Regions from separate parts of the Homo sapiens genome. Here regions 1 and 3 are each linked to region 2. Evidence: promoter capture Hi-C in 16 types of primary human blood cells and fetal thymus (Javierre and others, 2016). All regions are on one chromosome and are shown on one strand. Each heading gives the region's core, a stretch centred on a gene start or on the middle of the fragment in contact. The rest is flanking DNA. Distances are from core to core; before and after follow the strand shown.

Evidence for each region. Contacts are between HindIII fragments. The CHiCAGO score rates a contact against its expected background, and 5 or more counts as called.
Region 1: the fragment with the promoter of BATF3 here is called in contact with the fragment with the promoter of NEK2 in region 2 in 1 of 17 cell types (endothelial precursors); the score reaches 5.7 in endothelial precursors.
Region 3: the fragment with the promoter of ANGEL2 here is called in contact with the fragment with the promoter of NEK2 in region 2 in 3 of 17 cell types (fetal thymus, naive CD4 T cells and naive CD8 T cells); the score reaches 12.7 in fetal thymus.

The regions. Positions count from the first base shown.
Region 1 is chr1:212,698,465-212,701,164 of GRCh38, forward strand. BATF3 (basic leucine zipper ATF-like transcription factor 3) reads right to left here and starts at 1,376. Exons shown (of 3, transcript NM_018664.3): 1 at 1,209-1,376. The coding sequence starts at 1,298. RefSeq lists silencers at 674-1,123, 1,314-1,393. The HindIII fragment of the contact is 2,939 bases long and covers 1-2,621 here.
Region 2 is chr1:211,674,263-211,676,962 of GRCh38, forward strand. NEK2 (NIMA related kinase 2) reads right to left here and starts at 1,359. Exons shown (of 8, transcript NM_002497.4): 1 at 1,122-1,359; 2 at 34-251. The coding sequence starts at 1,217. It overlaps NEK2-DT (NEK2 divergent transcript), which reads left to right and starts at 1,500. Exons shown (of 4, transcript NR_148994.1): 1 at 1,500-1,604. RefSeq lists enhancers at 1,063-1,322, 1,345-1,639. The HindIII fragment of the contact is 3,147 bases long and covers 759-2,700 here.
Region 3 is chr1:213,014,560-213,017,259 of GRCh38, forward strand. ANGEL2 (angel homolog 2) reads right to left here and starts at 1,308. Exons shown (of 9, transcript NM_144567.5): 1 at 1,054-1,308. The coding sequence starts at 1,112. RefSeq lists enhancers at 145-733, 734-1,321, 1,034-1,343. The HindIII fragment of the contact is 5,816 bases long and covers 1-2,700 here.

The DNA of each region.
Region 1 (2,700 bases), core at 126-2,625, 1.0 Mb after region 2:
TCTGCAGACTTGGTGCTAACAGCCTAATGCTTAGGATTGGGATGCGATGAAATGAGATTTTGTCCTAAAGCTCCCAGCATACAGTATGCCCTCAAGAAGTTACCTGCCTTTGTTGAAGTTGCTACTTTAAAAAAAAATGTATTCTGCATAGTGCTTCTCATGCCTCTTTGCTCTCTGTAATCAAAAAGTCACTAGCACAAGAAAGCAGCCTGCATACTGCCCTCGGGGAGCTGACTCTAAACTGGACTCATCACCATGATCACACCTGCCAACCCAGCAGAAACATTTAATCAAGACAGAAAGAGGTGAGCGAAAGTTAGAGATAGTATTATGTTATTAACCATATCTGATTCAGTCTCAAAAATCCTGAGAGGTTGATGTTACTATATTCATTTTACAGATGGGGAAATGGACGGTCCGAGAGGTTAAACAAATTGCTCAAGGCTGCTCAGCCTGTGTGTGGCAAAGCCCAGGCCCAAACTCAGATCTCTGTGACACTCCAGCGACACCTGATGACATGGGCCGGGCGCTGAATTGGGAAGGTGGGGAGTAAGGATGAAAAGACCCAGTCTTCGTCGTAAGGCAGGTGGCCAAGACCCAGGCAAAGTTTCCAGACGGCCGTCCCTGTGGCCAACCTGGTCTCCTTCCTGACTGCGCCGCTGTAAACGTTGCTAGGGGACAGCGAACTGGGAAGGGGCAAAGGGTTTCCACCAGCTGGGGGCGGAGTCGGCCCTTTGTGGGTTCCCTCCGCCCAGGCTGACTAGTCCGGCGTTCTCCATTCCCGCGGCAGCACCCCCCCCACCCGGGGGAATCCTGGAGGGGCTACAGGCGCGGGTGGTGGGGTGGCAGTCGCTGGCTGCGCCAGGATGGGGCGGCCCTCAGGGCAGTGCGGAGCCCACGTGCCGGGGAGCACCGGCCATGCCCGGCCCAGCCAGGCGTCGGCGCCCTCGGGCTTCTTCCCCCAGAGGGCGCAGGAGCTGGCTCAGGAGCCATTCCAGGAGCCGCGGACACTGTGCGCACGACAGGGTCCCTGGATCGCCCCCATTCCCCAACATCCCTACGCCCCTACCTCTGCTTGTCTCCGGCCGCACCCGCCACCTCTGCACCTCCGCAGTCACCACCACGGAACTCCAGCACCCACCTCCTCGCCCCCCGCGGCGCGCCGGTCCCCGCACCCCACGGCCCTCCCTGAGCCTCTCGCCCTCTACCTGCTGCTGCGGCTGCGGCTGCGGCTGGTTCCCGGGCGCCGCGACGCTCCTCTGCAGGACGCTGCCGGCGGCCGGGAGCCCTTGCGACATGCCGGGCGCTCCTCTGGCCCGGCCCGCCCCGCCCCGCCCGCGCGCCCTGCCCGTGGGGCTGCCTACGGGCGCTGTCCCGCCGCCGGCATCCTCGTGCCGCACCCACGGCCTCGCGCCGGCCCCGCCCCCTCAGGCTTCCCGCTCTCCCCGCTACTCCACGCGTCGGCCCAGTGTCCCCGCGCGCCAGTCCCGGCAGCCGTCCTTCCCGTCCCACGTCTGCCCCGCCCTCCTTCTCCCACCCCCGCCTCGTTTCCTCCTCTGCCCGCCCTCTCTCCGCACCTCGGGGTCCCAAATCCCACCCCTGCCGCGGCTTTCCGCCGGCGCCCCGCGCTTCGTGGAAGTCACGTGGTGGCTCTGAAACCCCGGAGGGAACGCGAAGCCCACCCACGCGAGGCGACGCCCGGGGGGGTGGGGACCAGGGGGGCGCCATGCAGCCTTTGGGGTCCTTCGGCGGCTGCCGGGGAACTCAGGTTGAGAAACACAGTGGGTGTTTTGGGGTCGGTGTTTTTTCCCGGTCCCATCGCGGCATCTTCCTGCGCCTCAGCCACGCCCTGCGTCCGCCCCCCGGCGCGGGGGTCACAGTCCCGGGGGACTTTCTCCGCGGCGATCAGTCATCCGGGCGCCACTCTCGCTCCTCCAGCGGCCCCGAAGCCGCGGCTCTGGGGTGAAGACGCCGGCTTCACCGAGTCCCACCGCGCACCCCGAGCCACGGGCGCCCCAGGGACTCTGCAGGGAGTGCCTGCCCTTCCCGTCTCGGGTCCGCCGGGCTGTGGGAGGGAACGAGGCGGGGCGGCCCCGAGGGTGAATTCCCGGAGCGGAGGGTGGGCATGGGGAGGATGTCCCGGACAAAAACGGTGACGGGCTTCCCTGAGAGCGAATCTGCCACGTGGGACGTCACTAGTGACAGGTTTGGGGATCTGGACCCGCCATGCCACGGTTAAACGGCCCAGATCATTTTTCTTTTTCAAGATTTATCTGCTCGTGCCAAGCTGGGGACCGGGTTGAGGTAGGGCAAGTCCCTGTCCACCTGCCTGCCAGTCAAAAGATGCGAAGCCAAGACAATTACCCGTGGTCCTAGCGAAGGAAACACTAGCGGCCACAGGCTGTGGTCTGCATGCTGTGAGCACCGGGAAAGATAACCGCGATTCGGGATGGGCGGGTGGGAACCAGACCAGAAGGGCAGAAGTGCCTACCAAGTGTGGTCGCTTGGGTCTTCAGGTTTGTGGGCAGCAGTGGGCATGGGGACAGTCATTTCCGATTCCTTTTTAAGTCTTAAATGAGTGCACGTGCCCCCCGCCAGGATTTAAGACCCACTCTTGCAAAAGCTTTGAGAGAGCTTGAGTGAACTTGGCTGCCTGGAGGCCAGCGGGAAAGCGAGCGGAGATTCTTGTCTGTGTGATCA
Region 2 (2,700 bases), core at 109-2,608:
TTTCAGCTTACATTTTTAAAAGATTATGCTTACCTTTCCTTGGTTCCCTTTGTAATTACACTAGCCAGATCCCCTCCTTCACAATATTCCATTACAATGTACAGTGTTGTATTGGTCCGGTCAATAATCCGATCATAGTAACGAACGATGTTTGGATGTTTCAGTTCACGAAGCAAATTCACTTCAGAAACAAGCATCTGTTTCTCAGCTTCTGTCATGGAGCCATAGTCAAGTTCTTTCCAAACTAATATCTGAAATAAGAATTTCCAAGGTATGAATGAACTCATTATGCTCAAAAACAAAGAATGAAAGTTCCAAGATTTAACAAATTACCTCCCTTTTAATTATATCCTACAATCAAGGTCATTATCTAATTTAGTTCAATGAACTTAAGGAGCTGTGAGTTTACTTCCATAATCTTCCTCCAGTTCTAAGCAGTAAATGTATGTTGTGGGGAGACAAACGGGAATGAGGCACATGAGGACTCCCCCAACCCCTACCCTCAGTTGGTTAGTGGGAAGTTGGCTAAAAGGTACTATAGTCAAAATTGGGGTGAAGGTGGTCAAAGTCCCTGCCCCATTCCACCCCAGTCGTGTTTTCCCAGGATGAGACACCTTGGTAAAGATCCCTCCATCAGCAGCCAGGCAGTTTCCTGTCCAATGTTACTTTCTGTAAAAGTTCTACCTATATACATTGGGAAATATGAATCCAATAATCCTAATAATGGATATTTTGAGGGAGTCTGACTGCAGATACAAAGCTTCGGGTTCTGGTAGTCCTGCCCCTTTCTTGTGCCTGAGAGGGCCACTCTTAGAGCTCTAAAAACAGCTCAGGAATTAGTTACCTGTCACCAATGGAAGGTCCTTAGCAAGCCAAAGCAGGAGAAAGAGAGAAATGGGGAGAGAAACGGGAAAAGATGGAAATACATATATCAAAAGAAGCGGTCTCCCATCCTTTAAGCCACCCAGGACAGGCTGTCAGATGCAGACCCAGGAAAGACGGTTTAGTCTTCCGGGCACCCATTTCCTCAGCCCTGTCGGTTCCCTTCGGTGGCGCAGGGCGCTCGCCCCGAGGCGACGAAACCTAAGCAGGGGCAGGCGCAGGGTAGGTCCCACGCTCACCTTGCCATCACTCTTCCTCCGGATCTTCTGGCAGCGGCCGTAGGAGCCTGTGCCAATGGTGTACAACACTTCATAGTCCTCAGCCCGGGAAGGCATGGCCGGCCAGTCGCCAGAGTCGCGCTGCCTCACGCAGGTTGCGCCGCCAAGTGCGGAGCTCCAGGGACCAGGAACTCCAGGGACCTGGATGGAGAAGCCCCCGAGCAGCACTGACCCGCCACCCCTGCCTTGGGCCCCGTTTAACCGTCGCGGGCCCTGATCTCGCAGTCTATTGGCAGGCGGTGGGCCGCTTCGCCTCTCTCATTGGCTAAGAAGAACACAACAATACCCTAGGCATTTTGGGAAAAGTGTCACTAGGCAACCGCGTCGGCGTCTGCTTTTAACCTGTGGGAGAACCCGGCGAGCTAAGCCAAACGGAGGGCGGGAGAGAGGAAGCGGCAGCTGGCGCCTCTCGGCAACTCTAACCCTCTGATAGAGATCGCCAAGGTAACCGAGATCTAAGGTCCTCCCCTCAGGCTTCTTTGCACACCGCTTCCACCAGATGCCTTCTGACCTTTGCACTCTGGCCCCTCACACTACCTACTCTCCCCGGCACACGCATTCCTCGCTCAGGTTCCAGTACCCTGAACCTGGGTGGGGTCACGTTGAGGATATGCTGAGAGCTGAATACAAATTAGAAATACAGACTCCCGGGTGGGCGCGGTGACTCACGCTCGCCCGTAACCCTAGCACTTTGGGAAGCCGAGGTGGGTGGGTCGCTTGAGCCCAGGAGTTCAGACCAGCCTGGGCAACAGGGCAAACCTCGTCTCTACTGAAAATACGAAAATTAGGCCGGGCGCTGTGGCTCACGCCTATAATCCTAGCACTTTGGGAGGCCGAGGCGGGCGGATTGCTCGAGGCCAAGAGTTCAAGACCAGCCTGGCCAACATGGCGAAACCCCGTCTCTACTAAAAATGAAAAAAAAAAAAAAAAAAGTAACAGAGCATGGGGTTGCAGGCCTGTAATCCCAGCTTCTTGGGAGGCTGAGGCATGAGGAATTGCTTGAACCTGGGAGGCAGAGGTTACAGTGAGCCGTGCGCCACTGCACTCCAGCCTGGGCGACAGAGTGACACCCAGTCTCCAAAAAAAAAAAAAAAAGGAGAAATACTGTCGCTCTCCTACCAAGTACTTTACACGTCTTGTCCCGTTTATGTGTGCCAAATACACAATTAACCCTATCGACAATACTTCATTGAACACAGATTCTCTTTTACGCACCCACACACCAACGTTCTCAGCTTACCCAGCCAAATGAACAGCCCCATGTTTACCAGGGAAGGAGGACTTAGAGGCCTCCATCCAGGGCTTGTTAGAGGAATATGTAAATTACCAGAAAGCTAATAATTTGGAAATGCATGAACAGGCCAGTTTTCTTTAAATATCTGTTCAGCAAAGGATTAAAAGACACCTGATTTTCTATTAATAAGAATTTAAAAGCTCTTTATGTAAAAATAAGGGACTTATTACATGCCCTGAATATAACATAAGATAATTGGAATTGCCAACCAGGAGAATTTTTAAATTAACATTCAAGGGCACTGTC
Region 3 (2,700 bases), core at 58-2,557, 1.3 Mb after region 2:
TAATAAGCCACTGTATTGAAATATAATACTTGTACTACAAAAGCTATTATCTATATTTGCAGTTATTTATTCAGACTTTTTTTTCTCTTAAGATGTTAAGCTCCTTCAGGGCCAGAACAGAACCGTCTTATTCATTTTAATTCCGTTATCTTCACAAGTGCCTAGCACAGTGCCTGGCAAACAGCTGGTACTCAGGAAACATTGTTGAACTGAATTACCATCAAGTCCCAGGCCTATGGGAGTTACAACCAAATCCCCATCGCTTATGTAATAATACATGCTGTGTTTCCCAAGCGTGGTGGGTGGTACACGAGTCGGTTTCACAGAGTACACAGTTAAATTACTTGATTGTAATTTCTAAATACTTATGTTAGTTTATTAGGAAAAAACATAATCGCACATCAAATCCAAGACTCTGCAGACACTGCTTAGGGTGAAGCTAATGTGGGCAGCACCTACTGAAGTGCTTTTTAAAAAAAACTGAGTCAATTTAAAGAAAAATATCCAGTAAATAATACACGTGAAACAAGAACTTGGCCATAACAGTAAGGGATGACATACAAGTGACTAAAGTTTGAAAGACACTAACACATCAACAAAAATCAAGCCCCTCCTGGGCGTGTGCCACACACGCGCCTCCAAGGGATCAGGCCCGCCGAGACCTACTGCGGAGAGGCGGCCTCCCCGCCGACGCTCGGTTCCCGGGACGGTGCTGCGGAGTGTGTGGAGCAGGCCAGCGCTGGTCTGGAGGCTGGGTTGGGGGAAGCAGGCCAGGGATCCAAAGCCACTGGCACAAGCCTGGCCGGCGGCCCATGAACTCCGCGCCAAGACCCCAGACCTCGTTGGCCCAGCGTCCCGCCAGCTGCGCGGCGGGTTTACCTATCCCGCTTGGTCTCTGGAGGCTCGTCCCGGATGCACCATCGCCCAGACCCTCTTCCTCTTCCTTCCACCCCTAGCCCGCCCCGCCCCGCCCCGGGTTAGTCCCGGACGCCCGCCCGCTCTTTCAGGCCGCCCGCCCCTCTCTCCTCCCTCCGAGTACCCAGCCCTACTGACCGGCCTCTTCCCACCACACAGTGGCCGTAGCCCTTCCTCACACAGCGCCAGGCTTCCATCTTCGCCCTCCGCGTGCGTCCAGTTCCCAGGCCCCGGGTTCCACCTCAATCTCTATAATCGATGCGACGGCCTAAAGTATCTAGGGAACCCCATCACTCTTAAGTACCGACTCCAGTCCTGGCTGCAAGGCATGCTGGGAGGTGCAGTCTCGCCGGCCGGCCTACACTCCATCTTGCGCAGTCAGAGTCCCTGAATGCCTTAACCCGGAATTCTGCTCAAGGAGCATGCGCAGAGCGTGGGACGCGCGTGCAACCATTTCTGAAGAGGGCAAAACACCCGAACTTCGTCTTAAAGAAACAGAAATAAACTTTCTTTTTTTTCTTTTTCTTTCTTTCTTTCTTTTTTTTTTTTTGAGATGGAGTTTCGCTCTTGTCGCCCAGGCTGTAGTGCAATGGCACGATCTCGGCTCACTGCAACCTCCACCTCCCGGGTTCAAGCGATTCTCCTGCCTCAGCCTGCCAAGTAGCTGGGATTACAGGCATGAGCCACCACACCCGGCTAATTTTTGAATTTTTAGTAGAGACAGGGTTGCACCATGTTGGCCAGGCTGGTTTCGAACTCCTGACCTCAAGTGATTCGCCCGCCTCGGCCTCCCAAAGTGCTGGGATTACAGGAGTGAGCTACCGCGCCCGGCAGAAATAAACAGAGCAGTGAAAATTTTTAATTGCCCAAAGTGCAGATTCCCAGCTGAGGCTGAACAACGCATCCTCTGGGTGCCCATGGAACTGAGGTACCACAGAATTTTGCAATTAATGTTGCGGAAGCACAGCCATAGCTCTCACTTTAAAATGTACGTGTATGGGCCGGGCGCGGTGGCTCACGCCTGTAATCCCAGCACTCTGGGAGGCCAAGGCGGGCGGATCACGAGGTCAGGAGATCGAGACCATCCTGGCTAACACGGTGAAACCCCGTCTCTACTAAACATACAAAGAATTAGCCGGGCGTGGTGGCGGGCGCCTGTGGTCCCAGCTACTCGGGAGCCTGAGGCAGGAGAATGGCGTGAACCTGGGAGGCAGAGCTTGCAGTGAGCAGAGATCGAGCCACTGCACTCCAGCCTGGGCGACAGAGCGAGACTCCGTCTCAAAAAAAAAAAAAAAAAAAAAAAAAGTACTTGTATGTCTTGTGTGTCCACCTTTATTAAATGTATTATAGGACTGTAGATTGTTGAAAGACATTATTTAAGTGGAGACCCTGCAAGAAACAGGAAGAGAGAAACCGAGAAAGAATAAAGTGTGGAGAGTAGAGGGGAAAAGGATACTAGAAGGCAGGAGCACTGCTTTTATAGGCTCTTTGAAACAGTGGTAATTTCTTGGGAAGGCTTTTCTTATCCCTGGTGCATAAAAGGAAGTAAAGTGTATTTGAAAAAAACCTTTCCCTCAGTATGTAATTGATTCTTGTTATTTGCAGTAGTTAGGTTCTGTAAAGTTGCTGGAAACACTGAATTAGTAAATACTGAATCATTACTCCTAAGGGAAATACAGGATTAGGATCCTGTAAGCCTCTGGTCGCATTTTCATCAACTTAATCAATACATAGTTTTGTTGTATGTGTGTTTCCGCTTAAAGACATCTTATTTAATATATATTG